Regions from separate parts of the Homo sapiens genome. Here all the other regions are linked to region 1. The links are contacts of gene promoters, found by promoter capture Hi-C in blood cells and fetal thymus (Javierre and others, 2016). All regions are on one chromosome and are shown on one strand. The core of a region is centred on a gene start or on the middle of the fragment in contact, and the rest is flanking DNA. Distances in the headings are between cores, read along the strand shown. Region 1 holds the start of TLR8 (toll like receptor 8). Region 2 overlaps OFD1 (OFD1 centriole and centriolar satellite protein). Region 3 overlaps RAB9A (RAB9A, member RAS oncogene family). Region 4 has its middle 6.0 kb from the start of RAB9A. Region 5 holds the start of LOC107985656 (a long non-coding RNA gene). Region 6 has its middle 13 kb from the start of EGFL6. Region 7 has its middle 30 kb from the start of EGFL6.

The links. Contacts are between HindIII fragments. The CHiCAGO score rates a contact against its expected background, and 5 or more counts as called.
Region 2: a fragment that was not itself captured here is called in contact with the fragment with the promoter of TLR8 in region 1 in 2 of 17 cell types (M0 macrophages and monocytes); the score reaches 6.8 in M0 macrophages.
Region 3: a contact is called between a fragment that was not itself captured here and the fragment with the promoter of TLR8 in region 1, in 1 of 17 cell types (M0 macrophages). The highest score is 5.5, in M0 macrophages.
Region 4: a fragment that was not itself captured here is called in contact with the fragment with the promoter of TLR8 in region 1 in 1 of 17 cell types (M0 macrophages); the score reaches 6.1 in M0 macrophages.
Region 5: a contact is called between a fragment that was not itself captured here and the fragment with the promoter of TLR8 in region 1, in 3 of 17 cell types (M1 macrophages, monocytes and M0 macrophages). The highest score is 6.7, in M1 macrophages.
Region 6: a fragment that was not itself captured here is called in contact with the fragment with the promoter of TLR8 in region 1 in 1 of 17 cell types (total CD8 T cells); the score reaches 5.0 in total CD8 T cells.
Region 7: a fragment that was not itself captured here is called in contact with the fragment with the promoter of TLR8 in region 1 in 1 of 17 cell types (non-activated CD4 T cells); the score reaches 5.2 in non-activated CD4 T cells.

What each region holds. Positions count from the first base shown.
Region 1 is chrX:12,904,961-12,908,535 of GRCh38, reverse strand. It overlaps TLR8 (toll like receptor 8), which reads right to left and starts at 1,916. Exons shown (of 2, transcript NM_138636.5): 1 at 1,827-1,916. The coding sequence starts at 1,829. It overlaps TLR8-AS1 (TLR8 antisense RNA 1), which reads left to right. Exons shown (of 5, transcript NR_030727.1): 3 at 203-320; 4 at 2,285-2,346. The HindIII fragment of the contact is 3,594 bases long and covers 1,801-3,575 here.
Region 2 is chrX:13,755,736-13,759,310 of GRCh38, reverse strand. OFD1 (OFD1 centriole and centriolar satellite protein) reads right to left here. Exons shown (of 23, transcript NM_003611.3): 13 at 2,544-2,733; 14 at 1,521-1,651; 15 at 863-974. Among named protein-coding and RNA genes, the nearest start is that of OFD1, 23 kb to the right of the region's middle. The HindIII fragment of the contact is 1,283 bases long and covers 1,092-2,374 here.
Region 3 is chrX:13,698,829-13,702,403 of GRCh38, reverse strand. The region is part of intron 1 of RAB9A (RAB9A, member RAS oncogene family); the gene reads right to left. Among named protein-coding and RNA genes, the nearest start is that of RAB9A, 11 kb to the right of the region's middle. The HindIII fragment of the contact is 5,121 bases long and covers 1-3,575 here.
Region 4 is chrX:13,681,380-13,684,954 of GRCh38, reverse strand. No RefSeq gene overlaps it. Among named protein-coding and RNA genes, the nearest start is that of RAB9A, 6.0 kb to the left of the region's middle. The HindIII fragment of the contact is 4,496 bases long and covers 1-3,575 here.
Region 5 is chrX:13,664,339-13,667,913 of GRCh38, reverse strand. It overlaps TCEANC (transcription elongation factor A N-terminal and central domain containing), which reads right to left. Exons shown (of 5, transcript NM_001297563.2): 5 at 2,505-3,575. It overlaps LOC107985656 (a long non-coding RNA gene), which reads right to left and starts at 1,839. Exons shown (of 3, transcript XR_002958816.2): 1 at 1,444-1,839; 2 at 1-230. The HindIII fragment of the contact is 3,880 bases long and covers 44-3,575 here.
Region 6 is chrX:13,555,151-13,558,725 of GRCh38, reverse strand. No RefSeq gene overlaps it. Among named protein-coding and RNA genes, the nearest start is that of EGFL6, 13 kb to the left of the region's middle. The HindIII fragment of the contact is 1,453 bases long and covers 1,184-2,636 here.
Region 7 is chrX:13,537,521-13,541,095 of GRCh38, reverse strand. No RefSeq gene overlaps it. Among named protein-coding and RNA genes, the nearest start is that of EGFL6, 30 kb to the left of the region's middle. The HindIII fragment of the contact is 346 bases long and covers 1,620-1,965 here.

The DNA of each region.
Region 1 (3,575 bases), core at 667-3,166:
GAGTTTTGAAAGCTCCCCCTCTGATTTGAGTCCATTGCGAAGGCTAACAACCTCTGCCTTTAGGCAGGAGGTCAGCCAGGTCCTTGACCTCCATTGGCCACCAGTGGGAGCAAAGTGGCCATTTTTTGCAAGTTTAATTTGATTTTATTATTACTCTATTTACCAATCTGTTGTTGTTGTTGTTGTTGTTGTTTTGAAACAGAGTCTTACTCCGTTGCCCAGGCTGGAGTACAATGGTGCGATCTTTGCTCACTGCAACATCCACCTCATGGGCTCAAGCGATTCTCCTGCCTCAGCCTCCTGAGTAGCTGGGACTACAGGTGCGTACCACCACACCTGGCTAATTTTTGTATTTTTAGTAGAGACGAGGTTTTGCCGTGTTGACCGGGCTGGTCTCTACCTACTGACCTCAAGTGATCCGCCCACGTCGGCTTCCCAAAGTGCTGGGATTATAGGCGTGAGCCACCGGGCCCCGGCTATTTACCACATTCTTACAGTACAATTATACTGGCTATCACAGCAGCTTACAAATATCAAGTAGGAATTGGATAATTTCAACTGCAATCCCATATGTGTCATTGGCCCAGTTGACCGAATTCCATATGGGCCACCTACAGTCATTTTGTAAAGCATTGTAAAATTTTAGTGCAGAATTAATTTACCTTCAAGATCCATAATGAACATTAGGTGGGTATAAAAATTAACTTCAGGCCGGGCGCGGTGGCTCATGCCTGTAATCCCAGCACTTTGGGAGGCTGAGACAGGCGGATCACCTGAGGTCAGGAGTTCGAGACCAGCCTGGCCAACATGGAGAAACCCCGTCTCTACTAAAAATACAAAAATTAGCCAGGCGTGGTGGCACACACCTGTAGTCCCAGCTACTTGGGAGGTTGAGGCAGGAGAATCGCTTGAACCCGGGAGGCGGAGGTTGCAGTGAGCTGAGATCACGCCACTGCACTCCAACCTGGGTGGCAGACCCATTAACTTCAAAAGACTTAAGTGTACTTTAAATTGTTGTCAAAATTAACTCCAAGGACTTTGGGGAAAAATATATAGTACATTTTGGATGAGACTCTCTTGAAATCAGACTTTTCAATTGCTCTTAAACCTCATTGAATTTTCTAGAAAATGTATCATTTAAAAAGAAGTGTAAAGTTCATTTTTAGTCTGACAGTTCTTGACAATAACAAAAACGGACCACCTGCTATGTCTTGACAGTGTAAAATAATAATTACAGAAATTGTAGCATGTTATTAGGTTGGTGGAAAAGTAATCACAGTTTTTTGTACCAACCTAATTATTTAAAACTCTGACCAAGAAAAGTAGCAATTAATGTCGAACTTTAAGCCTCCAACAGTAGGTTAAGCTCAGGCTTCACTAGGATCTAGCAATTGACCTATGTATGTGAAGGAAGAGAGTTTGTCCTTTTCTACAGAAATAGCAAAGGAAGAATATTTCCCTCACCTTCTCTTCCAACCCTGTTGTTCTGGAAGAGGATATTGTCTCTGGTAGGGCCAGTAAGTAATATTTCCAGTTCAATTTCTAACTTGAAATTTTCTTATTTTCCTGTCCAAATTAGTAAGATCATCACTGCATTTGATTTTCAAAATTTACTCTCTAATTCCTTTATACTAACGTGTGCACAAATTAAAGATCATAGCAAGCCGCTTTACCTGCATTTACAGTTGTTTCGATCTTTAATTTTTATCCTTATTTGCCCATTTATTACTTTCTAGGCTCACACCATTTGCCACCAACCCAGATTTCTGGGTCAGAAACCCCATATTCTGTTGGAAAGCTTTGCTAAAGAAATAGAAGTGGCTTACCATGTTTCTGTTGTTCTAATTTTTCATTCCGTAACTTGCAGCAGCGCAGAATGGTACCCTCTATGCAGGAGGTGGCCGAGAAGAGAAACTGGCTAACTTCCTGAAATGGCTCTATTTACCATCAGCAGAACGTAGCGTGTGTTTTACAGAAGTTTACATGAAAAGAAGGGAACTTGTGATTTCTTAGCTGTTGCCAAATCATTAATTGACTGTGCTTTAAAACTTTGAAACTGAAGTTATGGGAAAAAGTCATTTATGAAATGATTTAAATACAACCCAAATCAGACACACACGACGTATTTTTGTTAGTTTTTGTGTATTTGTGTGTACAGGGGAGAAAAAGGGAACATTATTCCATTCACTAAGAAAACTTCAGTGTATTCTTTTTTAAAAAAGTTACCATAAATTTGTACTGAACTTCGGATTTCTCAAACTCGTCTTCCTTGTGTAATTCACAGATGTAGGCGAATAACATGAACATTGCTTCATCTTTGTTCCACAAGTTTCTGAGACAGCACCGGTAGGTATGGGTCTCCCTCCCACTGGGCTGTGGCCGCAAAGCGAGCATCTTTCTCCTGGGCGCCCCATGCCTCCTCCAGCACCTGGCATGTAGTATAAGCTCAATGAGTGTTCATTGTATGAACGAGTGAGTCAATGGCTGAGCATTCGTGAGGCTGGAAAATTTAATCTTCCCGATTTAGTCTGATAAATGGATTCCATTTTATGCTCGGAGAGCAAGGGCCTCAAAAGGTGTAACCAAGAGCAGAGGTCAGCAAACTGCAGCCTTTGAACGAAATCCGGCCCAGAAGTGAAAACATTTTTAGATGAACATTGGCAATGGATTTGCTGATACAGAACACTAACTTTAAATTCCAACCAAGCAGAATGTTAGCACCTCCAAAAATGATTCCATTCTTCTCATTATTAAACCTATACTACAAAAAAACTGCCTTCGATTATTATTATTACATTTTGAGTTTCATCAATTACATAATTGTGGAAATTTTTATTTTACTATATAAGTAGCTACATAATATGCCAAATTTGCTTCTTGGCCTGTAAAACCTAAGATATTTGCCATCTGGCCCTTTACAGAAAAAGTTTGCTGACCCCTGGCCACAAGAATAAAGTTTAGAACGGGATGTGATATGTTTCATCTTGCCTTACACCCCAGGAGTGGGAGAAAACCAAATTGGCAGCAGGGTGGGCAGAGATGACATCCATATATAAATGGACTGTGGAACACCTTGTTATGAAGGAAGGCCTGTCAGCAGTCAAAGAATGGCTTGGGTGGGTATACCTAGATGGACCTCTAAAGATCACACCCTAAGGGAATTCAAGACCTGGTGCATGGTTTGAGAGGTGATTCCTGTGACATCAGAGAGTGCAGCCTGGGCCTTCATGGGCAAACCAAAAACATTTGTGATTGTAAACCCAAAGGCCTCGGCTGGCCGCATCCAAGTCTCTTGGTTTCCCTCCAAACATTTGCTTGGAAATAAAGTAAAGAAAGTAAGTAAGAATGGATCGAGTGCAGTGGCTCACACCTGTAATTCCAGCACTTTGTAGAGGCCGAGGCAGGAGGATCACTTGTGCTCAGGGGTTTGAGACCAACCCGGGCAACATGGCAAAACCTTGTCTCTAAAAAAATACAAAAATTAGCCAGGCATGGTGGTGTGCACCTGTAGTCCCAGTTACTCGGGTGGCTGAGGTGGGAGGATCGCTTGAGCCCAGGAGGTGGAGATTGCAGTG
Region 2 (3,575 bases), core at 484-2,983, 850 kb before region 1:
GAAAGAAAATGAGGAACAGAAAAAAGCAGAAACGAGTAGAGATAAAAATAAAACAAGTGCTGGTAGAAGAGAGCAAGGAGCTGATGAGGAAACAATGCAGGTGGGAACAAGGAAGGCTCAGACCCAGTTGAACTGGTAACACATACGTACTTTCTTTGAACTTGAAAGCAACTGAAGAATAAAGTATCTGAACTTTAATATCCTTCTTACGAAGTAGGAAGGGGCAGAGATGCATCCACAGTGAAGACACAATAATAAAATGATACCAATAACCATTTCCTGAGTGTCTTTTATGTCCCAGGCACTGGACTGAAACCCATTTCATCTTTTTCATCATGGCTCAGTAGGTATTATTATCCCCATTACAAATGAGGAGACTGAGGCCCAAGGAAGTTAAAGTAACATGCCCAAGGTCAAACAACTTCAAAACGGGTCCAAAAGAAGAACAGTTCTGATTCTGAAGGCAATATTCTTTTTGCTAAACCACCCTGCTTGTCCTGTATATTTATATATCTATCAAGGAATCCGTAAAACTACTGAATTGGTGTTAACATTGGGGTAACAAATAAAAAAGGAAATCCTATAATGAATATGGGGACTTCTATGTTACCACCACGCCTTTCCTATTGGGGCATGAGACTCTCCCAAGCCATGAGGCACCTATGAAGCAAAATACTTTTGCTGATGATCCAGATGGTATTACCAAAATGGATAGGGAGTTTTACTTCTAAGATGACACATATTTCTATGGCTTTTCCCCTAAAACAATAATTAATATTCAATAAATTATGATCATTACATTTTCACAGACACCAGAAGCTTTATACATACAAAAATATTTATGGGTTAAAACGTCTCTAACCTGTCTGAGTTTGCTTCAGTTGCAATTTTAAATCGGCAACCTGAGTAGTTAAACTCTTTACAGAAGCTTTGTAACCTAGAATCTGGGCCTTCAGCTGTGCAGAATGCTCAATCTGAAAAGATTCAGAATAGGAAAAGAAATCAATGTAAAACAAATCACAGCTTGCTTCAAAAGGAAAAGTTCTCTTATCATGTTTGTACTCTTTTTGTTCTGCCAATTCCAAGAAGCTTTATGACAGTAAACAACAGGGTCCCTATTAAAAAAAAACACAAGCAGAACACACAAACAAGTTCTTCACCATCTTTTTCAGTCATATCAAAGAACTCTAGGGCATGCAGGCAGAAATCAGAAGACAGTGAATGTTTGTAATACTTATCAGGGTGAGAATCGAGAGATAACAGTGGGCACCATCAGGCACTCAGAAAATTTTATGTTTAGGTGAGTTTGCTTTCTTCTCCATTTTATTACTATTACGAATATAAAGTCACGTTATCACTGCAGAATTTTCTCAGATGAGAAAGGATACCTTTAGCATATTTGGGGGAGTAATGTTTGATGTTAAAATAAATCTGATTTACACTAGTGTGACTTGTGCCAAGTTTACGTAACTATGAAGTGTACTGGTATCACACTAGAACTGAAGAAGAGCAATACTCACTTCGTCTTGCAGTTGTTTGTGCAGAGCTTGCCTGCAGCTTTCGAACTCCTCATGCTCAACCACTATAGCCTTTTCGGCTTTCCGTAGTTCTTTCTGAAAGACTGCAAGTTCAGGAGCCGGCTGAGCTAGGCCTAAGAAGGTAAAAAAAAAAAAAAAATCCTAGTCATTACCAACCTTAAGTTTTCTTATTTAACTTAACAAAAACAGTTAAAGGGGTTTTAAAGTGTTCTTTGCTTTGTACTGACTCAATAAATATGATAATAATTCTATTAAATGAGCTCAGAGCAATCCTGACTCTCAAATTTCACAACAAAAGAATTTAGTGCATGTTAATGCAAACTTTATTACCCTTGGAGTCCTACTCCAAGTAAAAGAACTCTTTCAAATTCTCAAATTAACCTGAAAGCCTGTTTCTCTCCTCTACTGTGCACAGAAGGAGCTCTCTATCTGGTCTACCTGTTGATGACAGCCCTGGGATCCAATATGATCTGGGCATCTGACAGCAGCAGTTGGGATCCAGGCAGAAGGCAGATGGCTCTCACGGTCAAGGTCATCTAAGAACCCTTTAATAAAGGTTGACTTATTCAGGGTATGCACAAAGGATGGTGGAGTTCCCTGGGTGGGCTAGTAACAGGGCCATACTGTTAGCGCTCCTTGGGCCTGGGGAATCAGAGGAGGGAGAAATTCTCAGCACTAGAGACAGGGTGGTGGTGCAGAGCACTTGGAAGAGGTAATCGCAGGCACTATGGCCTCACTTGGCCATGAGGCACAGTGGCCAGCCTAGGGCCACTGTATGTAGAGGCTGGTGTCCCCACTGGCCAAACCCAATCAGCAGTCAGAGGGCAAGGGAAGCTTTGATACCACCTATAGGCAGGTTTGCAGAGTTTAATCCAAGAATCTTAATTTTATAAATCTTCCCAATGTAAGCCCCCTACCTTATACAAGTACAAAGCATAGTTTTATAATACTGACCTAATGCGAATTACTAAAACACGCAAGTCAGAAGAAAAGAAAAATACATACGGTTTAGGAGACGCAGGTTTTCATTTCTACTCTCTTCCAGTTGTTGTTTAAGTAATTTATTTTGTGCCAGAAGCTCCAGTTTCTCTTCTTTTAGTAGTGAATAATCACTCATCTCTTTAACCTTTTCATTCAGCATATGGTTTTGTTTTGTTATTGCCAAAGACTGGGCTTTGACAGACTCTAATTCAAGCTAAAATTCAAAAAGGAAAATTTACATTTGAATAATGACTTTACAGTACTGCAAAAGTAAAAGCTGGCAGGCTCCTTTAAGCATGGTGTCACAATTTAATTAAGGTCACTAGACAGAAGTCTGATTCTCTACAATAAGACTCTAACTACAATAACGAAAATTATCTTCCGCCCTACAGTTGGGGCAGAACTTTTATAGGCCGCATCCCATGAAGCAAGTCCTTCTAAGATTATCATCCCATTTTCCAGAGGCAACCAAGAACCCAACAATAATCACACATCATAGCAATATATATTTTTTAAATATGAAAGGTAAGATAAAAATGGCTGAGCATGGTGGCTCACGCCCGTAATCGCAGCACTTTGGGAGGCTGAGGCAAGAGGATTGCTTGAGCTCAGGAGTTCGAGACCACCCTGGGCAACATGGTGAAACCCCATCTCTACTAAAAATACAACAATTAGCTGGGTGTGGTGGCACATGGCTGAAATCCCAGCTACTTGGGAGCTGAGACATGAGAATCACTTGAACCCGGGAGGTGGAGGTTGGTTGCAGTGAGCCAAGATCACACCACTGCACTCCAGCCTGGGCGAAAGAACAAGACTCTGTCTCAAAAAAAAAAAAAAAAAAAAAAGGGAAAGAAAGGAAAAAAGATTCTGTAAAATGTTGTGAAGTGCTTCCCTTTTCTTAGTATATCTCATATTTGAGTAAAAAGCCTACAAAGTTCTCACATAAGTCACAGTTGCTAAAATAAATTTCATATACAAAATATGTTGTAAGTACCTAAAGTTCCAGCTTCATCCTTCAGACAGCAAGCACACGAATGAACAGAAAAGTAAAGAAGC
Region 3 (3,575 bases), core at 771-3,270, 790 kb before region 1:
CTCCATGATCATTTTAGCCACGTGCTGCCATGAGAACACAGCCCTCACTAAAGTCTGATTCTGCTGGAGGGAGATTTGACCCAGGGGAAGTAGGTTTGACCACAGGCTAAGCTCAGCAGGAGAAAGAGAAAACTATGAGAAAAGAGGAGGGAGCAGGAACCAGAAAGTGGAACCAATCCATGCCAAAGCCCTGCCAAAGAAGCCTGGCCCTGGCATGAACTGGGAGAACTCAAGGTAGGCCTGAGCACCCGGAGGCTAGAGAGTGAAGAGTATGCTACAAAGACAAGACTGAAGGAAGAGGCCCAGGAGCAGGGAGGCGAGTAGAAGCCATGGAAAGGATTTCTGCCTGTACTCTAGGAATGATGGGGACCCTCTGAAATAGCTTCAGCAGTGGGTGACCTGGTCAGATAAGGAGTCCAGAAAGCTAACTGGATGCAATGGGAGAAGGGCTGTGGGTGAGGTGGGGAGGAAGGCCTTGGACAAGCTGGGATGGATGCTGCTATGATCCCTCTCCACTAACAGTGTCAGCTGGGCTTACGAATGAAAATTGAGGTGGTTATACCTCACACTTGATCCTCCAGTAAGATATTTACTATATGACTTCGTGTTTTACCTTGTTCACATTCAAATCCCTGGCCCTTTACCTGTCTAACTCCTAGTCAGCCGTGTGGATGCAGCTAGACCTCACCTCCTCCCGAACACCTACTGGACATCTCCAACTGAACCCCCTTCCTCGACACTCTTAACCATCCTGTGCGTGCCTCTACCATTTACCATAAGGAATTCTGTAATTGACATGCCTACTATGTCTAATAAAAGTGAAACATGCTCTCTTAACCCACATTACATGGATGTGTACTATCCAATTACAGAAATGTCCATACATTTCTGAGTTGTCAATGTTTTAGATTGCACCAAAAAAATGCATACCCATACTATTATCAAACCACCTTCCCCTAAAAAGAAAGACAATGTCCATCAATTAATGAATGGATAAATAAAATGCATCATACATCCATGCAATGTTGTAACGTAGATAAACCTCAAAAACATTATGCTAAGTGAAGGAAGTCAGAACAAAAGGCTACCTATTGTATGATTCCATTTATATAAAATGTTCAGAATAGGCAAATATGGAGATGGTAGATTCATGGTTGTCAACGGATGGGGCGGGGGGCAGTGGCAGGTAAAGGAGGAGGGACTGCTAATGGGTATGGGGTTTTTTTGGGGGGGTAATAAAAATATTCTGGAATTAGATAGTAGTGATGGTTGTACAACTCTGTGAATATACTATAAACACCAATCAACTGTATACTTTAAAAGGGTGAATTCGGCCAGGCGCCATGGCTCACGCCTGTAAACCCAACACTACGGGAGGCAGAGGCAGGCAGATCACTTGAGCTCAGGAGTTTGAGACCAGCCTGGGCTACATGGTAAAACTTCATCTCTACAAAAAATACAAAAATTAGCTGGACATGGTGGCGCATGCCTGTAGTCCCAGCTACTCAGAAGGCTGAGGTAGAAAGATCACCTGAGCCTGGGGAGGTCAAGGCTGCAGTGAGCTGTGATCACATCACTGCACTCCAGCCTGGGTGACAGAGTGAGACCCTACCTTGAAAAAAAAAAAAATTTTTACTGTATGTGAAAATATATGTGCAAATCTCCTGAGAATTAAAAATATGACCCTAGAATTAGATTTACACTACTAGAGCTACAAATGTTCTCCTTGTCCCTTCAGCAGCATCCCTTTAAATAAATCATTTACATGTACAACAGACACTACTTTAGGATTCCCACACCACGTGCCGGTACCAACATATGCTGTATGTGTCATACACTAATCCGAATGTAAAGTTGGATAAGCAGGTCACTGGCAGGAAAACAAATGAACCACATTGCCAGCAGATACGGCAAAATTCAAAAGACAAAAGAACATTTTATGTTAACCCTTTCCTTCTTATAACACTATTTTCCCAACTTTTCCATTATGTACTTTTATCTTATACTATCAATTGTTCATGAATAGTTTATCAGTAGTACCCTTTTCTCTGGCCTTCTCCAACCCCTTGCTGGCTTCCAAAGCCACATCCTACAATAAACCAAGGGGAAGAATAGAAAGCCTCAAGGTCCAAGCATCAAGAATTTAAATCTGCTGGCCACGCACGGTGGCTCATGCCTGTAATCCCAGCACTTTGGGAAGCCGAGATGGGCAGATCACTTGAGCCCAAGAGTTCAGGAACCAGCCTGGGCAACATGGTGAAACCCCATCTCTACAAAAAATACACAAATTAGCCAGGTGTGGTGGTGCCTGCTTGTAGTTCCAGCTACTTGGGAGGCTGAGGCAGGAGGATTGTTGGAGAGGCAGAGGTTGCAGTGAGCCGAGATTGTGCCATTGCACTCCAGCCTGGGTGACAGAGTGAGACTCTGTCTCCAAAAAAAAAGAATATAAATCTCTAATATGACTGTGTATGTGACTGAAGTTAGACTTTTTTTATTGGTCCTGGATCTAATTGTCTCCATTCTGACAGATAACTAAATTCATTTATTTATTATTTTTATTATACAGGATTTTGAGCATGGCATTCAAAGAGCTATTCAATGTCAGTTACAAGCCTGTCCCAATTATATCCCTACTACTCACCATCCCCGCACCTATCACTGGCATTTTCTGTCCATATCTTTGCTCGGGCTGTTACTTTGGCCTGGGAGGCCCCTCCCTACTTCGACAGCTATGACAATCTTAGTCATCAGAAGCCTAGTCCAGATTACCTCATGTAGGAAGCCAGGACCGCCCCAGCAACCTAATCTTTCTCTTTTCTTTGCTCTCATCATTTCCACCTCTTTACAGCTCTCATTTACTTATGCTCTAATCACCTTCAGTTGTGTATGTGTCTGTTTCCTAATTACAATGTCAACTCCCTGGGAGGGACACACAACACCTAATTGCATCCATTCACTTGTCCCTTTTTTGTTCTGCCACTTCTCGTACAATGCTCTACATTTGGTGAGGTGCAAATAAATGCTACATTGAGAACGAAGAGTATATTACTTCCTCTTTTATTCTTGTTATTCTATTATTATTCTATTTGTGCTTTCTGTACCTAAAATTCTTTGTTTCTCTATCAGTTCTCCCCGCATTCTATTTTTGAGGTCTATTAAAATGTGTGGGTAGGAACAAAAACATTGATTCTTACTTGCAATCCCAATGAGAATCCCACTTTAAAATAAGTACTATTGACTGACTGCGACAGGGAGCTGGCAAATGCTGAAAAACGACTACATTCCTTAATAAGCTGCCAAAGGGAGAGCAGGCATCATTTGTAAACTGCCTTCTCAAAACTTGAGATTTTAAAACACATACTCTGTAACCCCTCCAAAAACTTAAAATGAATTTATCACTCCTGGTTTAAATTTAGGAACAGATTTTTTTTTTTTTTTTGGTCAAATTCACAAGTTCCTTTGGATTCACCCTGAATGTCCTACTTAGAGGTGTACTTACCACTTCATTTCACTTCATAGCTTGAGGAAATGAGGTTCAAAGAAAACCAGGGAAACAAAAGCATGGATAATCTGAA
Region 4 (3,575 bases), core at 711-3,210, 780 kb before region 1:
CAATCCCTTTGCTGATTTGCTGATGAACATGAGTCAAAAACTGAACTTAACCTTTAAAGGCAATGGAAGGAAAATCGCATACACATCATGGTTACAATTATGTAAAAAGTATATGTGTGTGTTTGTATGAGTGTGTATATATGAGTGCTTATATACAAAAGAATGGAAGACAGCAAGGAAAATCAAAGCAGTTGAATTATTATGGCAGTAGGATTCTAGGTAATTTTTATTTAAATTTTGAATTCCATGTTATATTATTATTTTGGGAAGTAAGTGGAAGTTTTTCAACGAAGCAATTTTAAAAAAACTTTAAAAGTACTTCATAAGGCCTTGCAATTTAATCTTTGCCTTAGGCTATAATGGTTAGTGCAAGGCAAAAGTCCAGTTATCTTGCCAACTATTTCCTTCAGACATAAGCCCACACAGACATGTCCAAAACCATATGTGCTGCTCCTAAGACTCAGGATAGTGATGCTGAAGTGTTCCTCTTCCAGCCGCGCTGTGATCTTCTATCTAAATACCCAGTGCTCATTTGCAGCTTTCTTTACTTTTTGGTTTAAGAGCTGAGACCGCCATCACTCTCACATAACCAGCTTCTTATCCTCTCACCTCCCCTACCCTCACTCCATCCACAGGAGTATAAATAATCCAAGCTGGTGCTGGATCCTAGTCACAGCTACATCTAGGCTCTGGCTAAACGAAATCCCTGATTAAATTTGATAAATCCCTCACTCTATCTACCTAAAAGTGGAAAGGGTGAACCCTCACTGGTGGAAGACATTATGTGGACCATTTCTGTTTCATTTATATACTATGTCCCGCATGCAATAAAGTGTTAGATATGCAAAGAGGGAGGAAAAAGTGACTAATAAGAGAAAATAATAGAATTTCATTTGTAATGACTAATTTGGATGTACCTCAGGAATGCAAGGGTAGTTTAACATGAACAGTTCAAAGGGAAAACAACATGCAGTCAACTCAATAGGTGAAGAAAAAATTCATTCAATTAAATTCAACACCCATTTGTGATAAGTAATCTCTTAGCAAACCAGGAATAGAAGGGACTTCCCTAACCTCATAAGGAATATCTACTAAAAACCTATACCAAACATCATTCTTAATGGTTAAAATCCATTACGTATGCCCTTCAAAATAGAAAAAAAAAAAAAGATAAGAATGTCTGCTCCAACCACTCTCTTCAACATTGCATGGGAGGTCCTAGCACACAGCAATAAAAGCAAAAACGTGTGAGGACTGCAAAGGGAGAAACAAAACTTATTAAACACAGACAATATGATTAGAAAATCTAAATCACACTATAGAAAATCTATCATTGAAAGGGTTTAACAAGGTGGCTAGATAAAAAGTGGTTAACAAAAATAAGTTCCCTTTATATAACCAACAAAACACAGGAAACATCGATTGTTTTTTTGTTTTTTTTTGTTTTTTTTGTTTTTGTTAACTTTTGCCCACTTTTTTTTTAAAATTATTATTATACTTTAAGTTTTAGGGTACATGTGCACAATGTGCTGGTTAGTTACATATGTATACATGTGCCATGCTGGTGTGCTGCACCCACTAACTCGTCATCTAGCATTAGGTATATCTCCCAATGCTATCCCTCCCCCCTTCCCCCACCCTACAACAGTCCCCAGAGTGTGATGTTCCCCTTCCTGTGGCCATGTGATCTCATTGTTCAATTCCCACCTATGAGTGAGAATATGCAGTGTTTGGTTTTTTGTTCTTGCGATAGTTTACTGAGAATGATGATTTCCAATTTCATCCATGTCCCTACAAAGGACATGAACTCATCATTTTTTATGGCTGCATAGTATTCCATGGTGTATATGTGCCACATTTTCTTAATCCAGTCTATCATTGTTGGACATTTGGGTTGGTTCCAAGTCTTTGCTATTGTGAGTAGTGCCGCAATAAACATACGTGTGCATGTGTCTTTAAAGCAGCATGATCTATAGTCCTTTGGGTATATACCCAGTAATGGGATGGCTGGGTCAAATGGTATTTCTAGTTCTAGATCCCTGAGGAATCGCCACACTGACTTCCACAATGGTTGAACTAGTTTACAGTCCCACCAACAGTGTAAAAGTGTTCCTATTTCTCCACATCCTCTCCAGCACTTGTTGTTTCCTGACTTTTTAATGATCGCTATTCTAACCTACTCATCTGACAAAGGGCTAATATCCAGAATCTACAATGAACTCAAACACATTTTTTTTTTTTATAGACAGAGTCTCACTCTGTCGTCCAGGCTGGAGTGCAGCGGTGCAGTCTCGGCTCACTGCAAGCTCCACCTCCCAGGTTCATGCTATTCTCCTGCCTCAGCCTCCCAAGTAGCTGGGACTACAGGCGCCCACTACCACGCCCTGCTAATGTTTTGTATTTTTAGTAGAGACGGGGTTTCACCGTGTTAGCCAGGATGGTCATGATCTCCTGACCTCGTGATCCACCCGCCTTGGCCTCCCAAAGTGCTGGGATTACAGGCGTGAGCCACCGTACCCGGCCAAAACATCGATTTAAAACTATATTAACTTCAATAACAAAATTATAAAATACTTAGGAATAAATCTAACACAAAAAGAGAGAAGACCTTCATGGAGAAAATTAGGTGTGGTACCTGAATGGACTAGAATTGTGCTGTTCAATATGGTAGCCAAGACGCACGTGTGGCTATCTAAATTTCAATGTAAACCAATTAAAATGAGATAGCATTCGGAATTCAATTCCTAAGTCATATTAGCCTCATTTGCACTGCTCTATTTAGGCACATGTGGCTAGTGGCTACCCAACTGATGGAGTAGATATAGAGCATGTGCATCAGCACAGAAAATCAGACAGCACTGGACTAGAATATGTCCATCCATCACATATACTTTCAATTAGAATGCAATCATTTATACTACACTGCTTATGTCATACCTCTGTATTAGTCTGTTCTTACGCTGCTAATAAAGACATACCTGAGACTTGGTAATTTATAAAGAAAAAGAGATTTAATGAACTCACAGTTCCACTTGGCTGGGGAGGCCTCACAATCATCGCAGAAAGCAAAGGAGGAGCGAAGGCATGTCTTATGTGGGGGCAGGCAAGAGAGAGTGTGCGGGGGAACTGCCCTTTATACAACCATCAGACCTCCTACGACTTACTCACTGTCATGGGAAAAACCCACCCCCACGATTCAATTACCCCCCACGACATGTGGGGATTATGGGAGCTACAATTCAAGATGAGATTTACGTGGGGACACAGCCAAACCATATCAACACCCATAATGGAAATGCAGAAGAGAGCTGTAAAGTTTGCTTATCTTCTTTTTCTTTTCTTTTTTCTTTCTTCTTTCTTTTTTTTTTTTTTTTAGATGGAGTCTGACTCTGTTGCCCAGGCCAGAGTGCTGTGGCACGATCTCGGCTCACTGCAACGTCCGCCTCCAGGGTTCAAGCGATTCTCCCGCTTCAGCCTCCCGAGTAGCTGGGATTACAGGCGTGCACCACCACGTCTGGTTAATTTTTGTATTTTTAGTAGAGACAGAGTTTCACCATGTTGGCCAGGCTGGTCTT
Region 5 (3,575 bases), core at 734-3,233, 760 kb before region 1:
TCCTCTCAAGATTTGCCCTAAGGGTCACGGCCTCTATGAAGCTTTCCCTGACCCTCCCACACTGGGTTAGTTGATCCTCTGGGGTCCTCTGCACCCCTTTCCAGTGGGTGTCTCTCTCAGAGCTCTTAAAAGGTAAAACGATTGCTGGCTGCATAGCATGGCGCTTCCCCTGCGTTTCGTGGGGCTTGAGGCCTGGGATGGTGTCTTAATCATCTCTTTGCTCCCGGCACCTGGAAAAGTGAAAGCAATGTGCAATCATGAACACAGAGCATTTCTGATGATGCATGCTAACATTTGTGGAAATCTATTATTATTATTATTTTTTAGATGGGGTCTGTCTCTGTCACCCAGGCTGGAGTGCAGTGGTGCAATCATGGCTCACTGCAGCCTCAATCTCCTGGGCTCAGGTGATCCTTCCACCTCAGTCTCCTGGGTAGCTGACACTACAGGCACACACCACCACGCCTGGCTAATTTCTATATTTTTTGTAGAGACGGGGTTCAGACTGATCTCCAACTCCTGGGCTCAAGTGGTCCTCCCACCTTGGCCTCTCAAAGTGTTGGGATTACAGATGTGAGCTACCACGTCTGGCCAGGAATCCCAGTTTTAAATAATAATGCAAATGGGACTATATGAGGTTGTCATCTGGTCTCCCTTCTGATTGTGGGGCTCTTCTGAAAGCCTAGGTACTTACAGTATCTGAGAGATACAAAAATAACTACTTTAGTAAAATATTTTGCATTTACTGGGAAGTTATAAATAACAAAGCAATCTGACCCAGAAGATGAAGGCCCAGCCCTTGCCAAAGCAGTGGAGCACTGCCAGCTGCAGGCTTCCTGACTGGTATTTAGAATGGTAGTGGCGAATGAAAGGAGCCTCTCATCACAGGAAGTGCTCAGGGAAGAGACAGAGCTCCAATTGTATCCAACTTTTTATCTCAGAAAAGTAACACAGACAAAAGGAGAGTGATGTGGGAAAATCCATCAAGAGTCAAGAGAGCGCTCCTACATTCAGGTATAACAACTGGTGTTTATGCCCTATGCAGGGACTCCCAGTAATCATGGCAACCCGAGTATAGGATATACTTGTCCAATGCTGAATTTCTGCATTGTCTATTATTGTTTATTATGGGCCATGGGTAGGGAACTTGGGATTTAGTGTATTTTATGAAATATCCATTTGCAAAGTTGTCAAGGACTTTGCTGACTATAAGGATTCGGGGAGCCCAGACTCTGTGTACTCTTGCTTGAAGCCAGTTATTTGACATTTGGATCACTGCCAAGGGTCACCTGTTGTCCCTGCATGCATCCTTGCTTCCTTCCCTTCTAATTCAATATAACAGCCAGAGTGATCCTTCCTAAAGGGTGTTAAATCTCATCACCACAAACTCCCCAGCTTCAGTGGCTTCCCATCATGTTTTAAGAAACGCCCCCAAATCCTTACCATGGCCGACCGACAAGAGCCCTCACGATGGCCTCTTTGACTGCATCTCTCATCCTTGTTCCCCTTGCTCACTGTGACTTAGCTGCCGTGGACTCTTGCTGGAACTTGCGTGTATCAGGCAGTCTCCTGTCTCAGGGTCTTCCATTTGCTGTTTCTGAAAAAGCGATTTTAAATTAAAGAGTCTTGGCCAGGCACGGTAACTCATGCCTATAATACCAGCACTTTGGGAGGCCGAACACTTTGGGAGGATCGCTTGAGCCCAGGAGTTTGAAACCAGCCTGGCAACATGAAGAAACCCTGTCTCTACAAAAAATACAAAAATTAGCTGGGCATGGTGGCACGTGCCTGCAGTCCCAGCTACTCAAGGGAGTGGGGATGCTGAGGTTGGAGGATTGCTTGAGCCCGGGAGGTTGAGGCTGCAGTGAGCTGAGATGGCGCCACTGCACTCCAGCCTTGATGACAGAGTGAGAACCTGTCTAAAAAAAAAAAAAAAAAAAAAAAAAAAAAAAAAAAAAAAAAAATCTTTACCCTGCAGTCAATTTTAAAGAAAGTCCTTTCCTTTTAGGGGAAAGGACATAGGATCTGAAAGAATTACCTATAGGCAGAAAATGTAATGCTGTCTCATTAACCAAAAGAAAAACACACAGATTACTATTTTCCTATCTCAAGTTGCAAAACTCACGAATAAAGATGAAATGAAATGAGGAAGACCACGCAGATTGGTTTTTTTGTTTGTTTGCTTGAGGTGGAGTTTCTCTCGTTGCCCAGGCTGGAATGCAATGGCGTGATCTTGGCTCACCGCAACCTCTGCCTTCTGGGTTCAAGTGATTCTCCGGCCTCAGCCTCCCGAGTAGCTGGGATTACAGGCACCCGCCATCATGCACAGCTAATTTTTGTATTTTTAGTAGAGACGGGGTTTCACCATATTGGCCAGGCTGGTCTTGAACTCCTGACCTCAGGCAATCCGCCCGCCTCGGCCTCCCAAAATGCTGGGATTACAAGCATGAGCCACCGCACCCGGCCAGACCATGAAGGTTTTTATATTTTGGAGAGTAAGGAAATTTCCATTTTAATTACTTTTATTTGTCTGAACATTTAGTTTGCCAAATTCCAATATAAATAAAAACTACACACATACACACAAACCCCCAAAGCAAAACATAAACACCGACTTGAACTAATCAAATTTGGTTTTTATGTGCTGTGCTCTTTCGTAACCACTGAATAGTTTTTCAGATTATTCCAAGTCATATGAAACCACACTTTGTGAAACTTCAAGTTTTAGATGACCTTGCAAGTTAAGGACTAAACATGTTGCATCACAAAAAGCAGCCCTGGGAAGACACGGAGAGCAAGTATATCAAAATAGATTTTACACTTGATGGCATTGAGCCGACTCTTCCAAATTATTTGAAAATACGAACATATTTTACTTTTATGCATGTTTTGGAGAATTCTGTCAGGCAGGTAAAGTGTACACACAGTTAGGCCTTCAGAGCTCCAACAAAGGAAGAGAGTTAGGAGAAAAGAACTGGTGAGAAAGTGAAATGGTAGGTTTGTAGAGACCGCCAAAGTAAACTTTTTAAAACTATAAAACGGTGAACATTCCATGAGTTTTTTAAGGAAAAAAAATCAGCCATAATCACATAGAAGGCGTGTTGTAGTCAAACAATTATATAAACTGGTTAAACACTGTTTGCAAAGGCCTCAAAGAGGTAATTTTATCTTCAATTCATTTATTAGATAAACGTCTGTTACTACATTCAAAGGCTAAAGTGATGGGCTTCCTCTGACAGACTAATGACCATTAATGTCCATCTCAAGGACACTTGTCCTTGAGAACATGAAGACTCCTGACATCAGAAACTAAACATCCTAGAGTTTACATACCCCCGAAAAACCTGTTCACAGGGGGAAAAAACAAAAACAAAAACAAAAACAAAAAACAACTACGAAACTCCTTCAACTAAGCAAGAGGGCTCCAAACAAAATTCTAACTGCGGGATGAGTTCCAGGGTGACTTTTGTGGTTGAAGGGAGACCTATAAATGAGAAAAGAGAGGGGAAAAGAATGAAGATCTAGTCACCCAATGTTGGAGTTTAAACACATTCTTCATTTTGTCCCCGACCTCC
Region 6 (3,575 bases), core at 661-3,160, 650 kb before region 1:
CACCTGGCTAATTTTGTATTTTTAGTAGAGATGGAGTTTCTCCATATTGGTCAGGCTGGTCTCGAACTCCCGACCTCAGGTGATCTGCCCGCCTTGGACTCCCAAAGTGTGGGGAGTACAGGTGTGAGCCACTGCACCCAGCCCCAAAATAAACTTTTTCACTTGTTATAACATGCCTGAACAGGATCGCGTTTGAGGCACTAAGAAGGATAAGACATCAGTTTGAAAAGAGTCTAAAATTAAAGCAAGAAAAAACATCAAATTTATGGTGCTCAGCCTGGGCAATGTGGCAAAATCCTGTCTTTATAAAAAATACAAAAAATTAGCTGGGTGTGGTGGCAGGCACTTGTGGTCCCAGGGAGGCTAAGGTGGGAGGATCACCTGAGCCTGTATGATCGAGGCTGCAGTGAGCTGAGATTGCTCTGATTGCTCCACTGCACTCCAGCCTGGGTGACAGAGTGAAACCCTGTCTCCAAAAAAAAAAAAAAAAAAAAAAAGGTTAAGCTTGGGTGGAAGAATGGTGAAATCATTGATGTTTAATGAAAAGTTTATGGGGACAATGCCCCAAAGAAATCAGCAGTTTACAAGTGAACAATTTGTTTTAAGAAGGAACGAGGTGACGTTGAAGATGAAGCCTGCAGCTGAAGATCATCCACATCAATTTGTGAGGAAAAAATTCACCTTGTTCATGCCCTAATTGAAGAGGACCGACGATTAACAGCAGAAGCAATAGCTAACAACATAGACATCTCAATTGGTTCAGCTGACACAATTTTGACTAAAAAATTAAAGTTGAGTAAACTTTACACTCAGTGGGTGCCAAAATCATTGCACCCACATCAACTGCAGACAAGAGCAGAGCTTTCAAAGGAAATTTTAAACAAATGGGATCAAGATCCTGAAATTTTCTTCAAAGAATTGTAATGGAAAATGAAACATGACTTTCCCACTGCCATGCCAAAGACAAAGCACAATCAAAGCAATGGCTACCAAGAGGTGGAAGTGGTCCAGTTAAAGCAAAAGTGGATGGGTCAAGAACAAAGATTATAGCAACAGTTTTTGGGAATGCTCAAGGCATTTTACTTGACTTTTTGGAGGGCCAAGAAACGATAGCATCTGCTTATTATGGGAGTGTTTTGAGGAACTTAGGCAAAGCTTTAGCAGAAAAATTCCTGGGGAAGCTTTACCAGAGAGTCCTTCTCCACCACAACAATGCTCCTTCTCATTCTTTTCATCAAACAAGGGCAATTTTGTAAGAGTTTTGATGGGAAATCATTAGCTGTCCACCTTATAGTCCTGACTCTCTCCTTCTGACTTCTTTTTGTTTCCCAATTTTAAACAATCTTTAAAGGGTGCCCATTTTTCCTCAGTTAATCATGTAAAAAGACTGCATTGATATGCTTAAATTCCCAAGACCCTCAATTCTTTAGGGATGAACTAAACTGCTGGTATCATCAATTACAAAAGTGTCTTGAACTTGATGGAGTTTACGTTGAGAAATGAAGTTTCTATTTTTATTTTTATCTTTTAATTCAGTATTTCCAGGAACTTTTTGAGGTCCCCTCATGTTACTAAGTCCCAAATGCTCAAGGGATCATTCAACATCAGGAAATGTGAAAAAATAATACAAGTGTGAACTTTGGTGATAAAGCAGCATAGGATATCCTACTCCTTAAAAGAGGGAAAAAAAATGATGTCTTTACAGTAGTTGCTCTGTATTGTTTAATTTTACTTCCAGTTTGAAAGAGCTAAGTTAAGAATCTCCTGTTCCCTATCATTCTTAATGAATTGAACTAAAGACCTCACCTAAACCTGCCATGGGTGTCACCTAGATGTCAACAATACTATTGAAGTGTAGCCCAGGTCTGATCTCATCACCCTGAATTTTGCATGATCCATTTTCCTGTAATGAGAGTCCCAGGCATAGATTTATGAGATCAAATATAGCTGGACTTCTAGGACTCACAAACCAAGTGATTTATCTAAAACTGCTACTAATTCTTGGTAAAGGTGAATCATTTGATGTTGTATTTCTTCACTCATCTCAGAGGGTTAATGAGAATAATTTTAGGATATAAGACATTTAGAAAGTTTGTATTCTCATTTGAGTGTAGGTAAAAATAGATCACAGGCACCACTTTTAAAAGAGGTGGGTCAAAGCCTGCCATCCATGGTATTATGCCATGATTCCCTTCTGGTGCCTTTCCCTTTCTGTCCAACTCAAATTTCTTCTAAAACTGAGAACTCTGGTTTCCATTCTTATTAGTAAGGTTATGGGCATGAGAAATGATGAATTATAAGACAAGGTCTCACTCTGTCACCCACACTAGAGTGCAGTGGTGCAATCATGATTCACTGCAACCTTGAACTCCTGAGCTCAAGCGATCCTCTCACCTCAGCTTCTCAAGTAGCTGGAACTACAGGTACACACTACCACACCTGGCTAATTTTTGTATTTTTTTGTAGAGATGAGGTTTCGCTATGTTGCCCAGGCTGGTCTCAAGCTCCTGGACTCAAACAATCCTCCTGCCTCGGCCTTCCAAAGTGTTGGGATTACAGGCATGAGCCACCACACCCAGCTAAAGTCAGTGTTTATTGCAAGAATTTTGCTAACACTTTCTAACATTAAAAAAGCTTATTAAAAAGACATGTCCTGTTTTGCCTCTTGTGTTCTATAATAAGGCTTTATTCTGAAGCTACGTAAGATCTGCAACACTCACAAACATGCCAATGAGAAAATTCAGTCAAAAAATGTTTATCATATGGTGATGTAGGGAAACATTTGTGTTTCAATGAAAAGCAATGCATTGTTTAGATCACACTCTTCTTGGTTTTCTGACTCTAGCCTCTCATTGCCTTTGAACTATTTTACAACTCTTCAAGTTATAGGTGACTATAGCAATGCAAAATCACTTTTATCTATAGATGTGTACATCCTGTCCGCTGGAAGTTCAAGTGACTTTCCTCACCCAAGCCCTTGGCACACACTTTTGCATTTAGTCATCATATCAGCCTATGACATAGGAACTATTATCATCCCCATTCCCCCATCAGGAAACGGAAGTCTAGAGAGATCCAGAAACTTGCCCAAGTCACTTTGCTGGTAAGCAAGGAAATCAGGATCAAACCCTGTCAGCCCGATGAATACAAATTATGTTAGTTTTCAGGTTATCATAGAGAAAAGTATGTTTATGGTCAGGAGGGAAGACATTCCTACTACCAATTTGTCATCGAGTGTAACTTGTGTTGTTAATTTCCTCCTTATAGAGTTATTTTTTTTAATCTAAATAGATTACAGTTCCATGGCTTACCTCTGCATTTCTCTCTGTACCTTCTTCCTCTCATCTCCAAAGGACAGACACCATCTGTGAACAGGTGCAATGGTATTTAAAGAGGACAACCCCTCCTCTAGGGATCTCAATGCTAGTGCTCTAAATATGGCAGGCAGAGCTGGAAACCCTGCTGCAGTGCCAAGGAATTTCCAGGATTCCCAGCGAGTGTCTTGAGGTCTCTTGGAGATATAAACCTTTTGTAAAAAGATCTCCTTGGACTGATCTGGATGGTATAATTCAAAG
Region 7 (3,575 bases), core at 543-3,042, 630 kb before region 1:
AACTTCAAATGACTTCTCATGAACCATATCACTATACATGCTCTCTTTTTTCCTGCAAATCGGGTTATTTTCTTTGAAATAGGAATAGGAAATTGAATGGAATGGAATGTCCTTCCACCCATCTTTCATCAAAGGAATTTTTATTGTAAGTAGCACCAGAATCCTGGGCCTGCCTCTTGAAAGGAAAAATGAAACACATCTCTTCCCACCTCCTCTGCCAACAGGCATTAGCTATCCCAAATATTAACAGAGATAACCTCCCAGCAAAAGATGTAGGCCCTTAGATTTCCTTATAAGCCCTTAGAGGAAGAAAAAAATATACCGCCCTAATCCCGAGTAATTCCTGAGCTATGCAGCTCAAACAGAAAGTCAAATAAAATAAAAGTATATCTTTCTTAAGTGAAAACTGTTTTGCAATGAAAGTCAGGGTTATTTATACTGGCTGTGACTGAGTGTTGCCCTCAGAGGCATCTTTGCATTTCCCACAAGCCATTACAAGTTGGGTGCTGCTCATCTTTGGTGGAGAGAAACCAGTTCCTGATCATATTCCCCTCAGCCAGACCCGCCATCAGCTGGTTCCCCTTAAGTCCTTATCTCCCTGTTACGTCCCACTACCATTTCCAGGAACAATGTTTTCTTTTTTATTCCTTTTTTTCCCCCCTTTTTTAGAGACAAGGTCCCACATGTTCCCCAGGCTGGCCTTGAACTCCTAGCCTCAAGGGATCCTCAGCCTCCTTAGTAGCTGGGACTATAGACACATGCCACTGCCTGGCTCGGGAATAATGTTTTAATAACTAGGTAGCAACAAGGGAAGAAGAGCTCTAATGAAAATATCTCTGGGACACTCAGAGGCTGGGCCAGGCTGTAAAGTAGAAAAATTTTTGAACCTTTTCCACGCATCTGTCAGGAGCAACCCAAGCCAATGTTGTTTTGTCGCCTCCACAGCTACCTAAGGGTTGTGCGTTGTTCTACCTTTCTTTTTCTTTTTCTTCTTGTCCTGCTTTTATATTTAAGAAATGAAATTGTATTATTTTGGGTAAGTTCAGGAATCTTAAGGCATGCCAAATTACCTGGGCCAGGTGGGTAGTCTCCCATATATATTATCTAATAAGAGTGAGTATCATTCTATCATTATTATTTATATATTGTTATTATATATGAGTTTAATTTAAATCACTTCAGTAAGCACTGAGACTTTTATGTGTCCAATTTGTTTTGGGCACCAGATATACAATTTCATATTATCTCAAAGGCATTTTGAGCAGGGCTTAGATGTATAAAAGCAGCTTCTCAAAACACAGGGTGCCTCAAAAGGTCAAGGACCTAAAAAACACAGATGGAATCTGGATTCTGACCAACAGAATATTTTAGCTGTGTCCAGAGACACATGGGTAGGCAGAAGAGACAGGCTGCTGTCTGCTAGGAACGCCTTTTTGTTGGTTTCCCCTAGTTGAATCAGCAGCCACATCTGCCATGTTGGGGCAATCTAGCTGTTAAATGTATCACAGGACTGATTAACTGGAAGGACGGAGTGGCACTCCAGGTATGCTCACTAGGGAGTATAATTTGGAATTTCTTCTATTTGAAACATTTTCTTGAGAAAAATATTTAGAGAAGCTTGGCCAAATAGTATATGGTCCATCCATTGCTCTAGGTTAGCACTGCTCAAAGGTGTTTTGCATCAGAATCAACTGATAAGGCAGTTAAGAGTACGTATGTTATGGCTTCATCCAAGGGTCATTAATTCTGAGGTTTAGGAAGGAGTCTAGACAGATGAATTTGGAATTAGGTGGCTCTTATGTCTGCACATGGTTACCCTTTCATGAACACCTCCATTTTCCATGAGGTCCTCACCCTAGCACACGTAAGGGATTCACTACACAGTCATGGTAATACATTTGGGGACACGCTTCATGGAAACCTGTCAAAAGGAAGGGAGTGGTACTTACATAGTTTGAAGAAGCTTTCCAGTTGATTCAAATAGGCCCCCTCATTTCCCTGTCTAGACCAAGAATCACAGCTTTACAATTGATCCTTGTACTAAACAATCTATCAGAAAGCTGTTTAGGCCAGGCACAATGGCTCATGCCTGTAATCTCACCACTTTGGGAGGTGCAGGTGGGAGGATCACTTAAGCCCAGGAGTTCCAGATCAGCCTGGGCAACATAGGGAGACTGTGTATCTACAAAAATAAAAAATAATAATAAATTAGCCAGGCTTGGTGGCAGGCACCTGTGGTCCCAGCTACTCAGGAGGCTGAGATGGGAGGGTCACTTGAGCCTAGGAGGTAGAGGCTGCAGTGAGCTGTGATCATGCCATTGCACTTCAGCCTGGGCAACACAGTGAGACCCTGTATAGAAAAAAAATAAAAAGGAAGCTGTTTAACTGGACAAAGATATATTGATTTCCAAGCTCTTTGCCTAAGAATTGTCTTTCGAAACTTTCGGAGTTGCATATTTGCATTGGCCTTACTAGAAGAACAAACGGATCAAACTTGTTTATTTTTCACAGGGGTGTTGATGAGGTCCTTGTTAGGCACTTTTGCCCCATCCTCTTTGCTAGGACTAGGGGAGAAAAGAACTAAGAATTAGTTTATGCTTTCTGGATGCTGAATCAAGTAACTGCCTATGTCTCTCTCTTTGAGTTGGCTGCTTGAAGGCTTAGAGCCTAAATTTTGGCCACAGTATGCATGTTGAGTAGTTCACTCTTGGCTGCTTCTTATTTTTCTTTACCTAATTTCTTCACTTACTTTTTGTTTGTTTGAGATAGAGTCTCTCTCTGTCAGGTAGGCTGGAGTGCAGTGGCATGAACACGGCTCACTGCAGCCTTGATCTCCTGGGCTTAAGTGGTCTCCCACCTCAGCCTCCTGTGTAGCTGGGACCACAGGTGTGTGCCGCCACATGTGGCTATTTTTAATTTTTTGATTTTTTTTTGTAGAGACAAGGGTTCACTGTGTTGTCCAAGCTGGTCTGGAACTCCTAGGCTCTAGCAATCCTCCCGCCTCAGCCTCCCAAAGTGCTGGGATTACAGGCATGAGCCACTGGGCCTGGCCAAGTTCAGAGCCCTTAATATATCAATAATATTTGTTTTAAGTTTCTTATCTGATAATTTCAAAATCTGAATCACATCTAAGTCTGATACTGATGCTTGTTTTGTCTCTTTAGACTGTATTTTTTCCTTGCCTTTAGCTTATCTCATAATTTTTTTTGTTGGAAGTGATCATGATATATCTGGTAATAAAAACTGAGTTAATTAGGCTTTCAGTGTAAGGCTTTATGTTAATTTGGCTAGGAGGTGGGCTATGTTTAATGTTAACTGTAGCTATATGTGCCAAAGGCCCTACCCAGACTAACTTACTTTTTTAATGTAACCTTATCTCTTGTGTTTAAACGTTGTTCCAATCAATACATTTAAAAGTACATTTGTAATAATCAATACATTTGATACAATGTATAAAAAACACACATGTAGCAATTGATATATTTGTAATGATTGATACATGTATAGCAATCAATGAGTTTAAAAAATTTGCAATGTTTTATATTTGCAATGATTTATATTTAAATCCATTATTG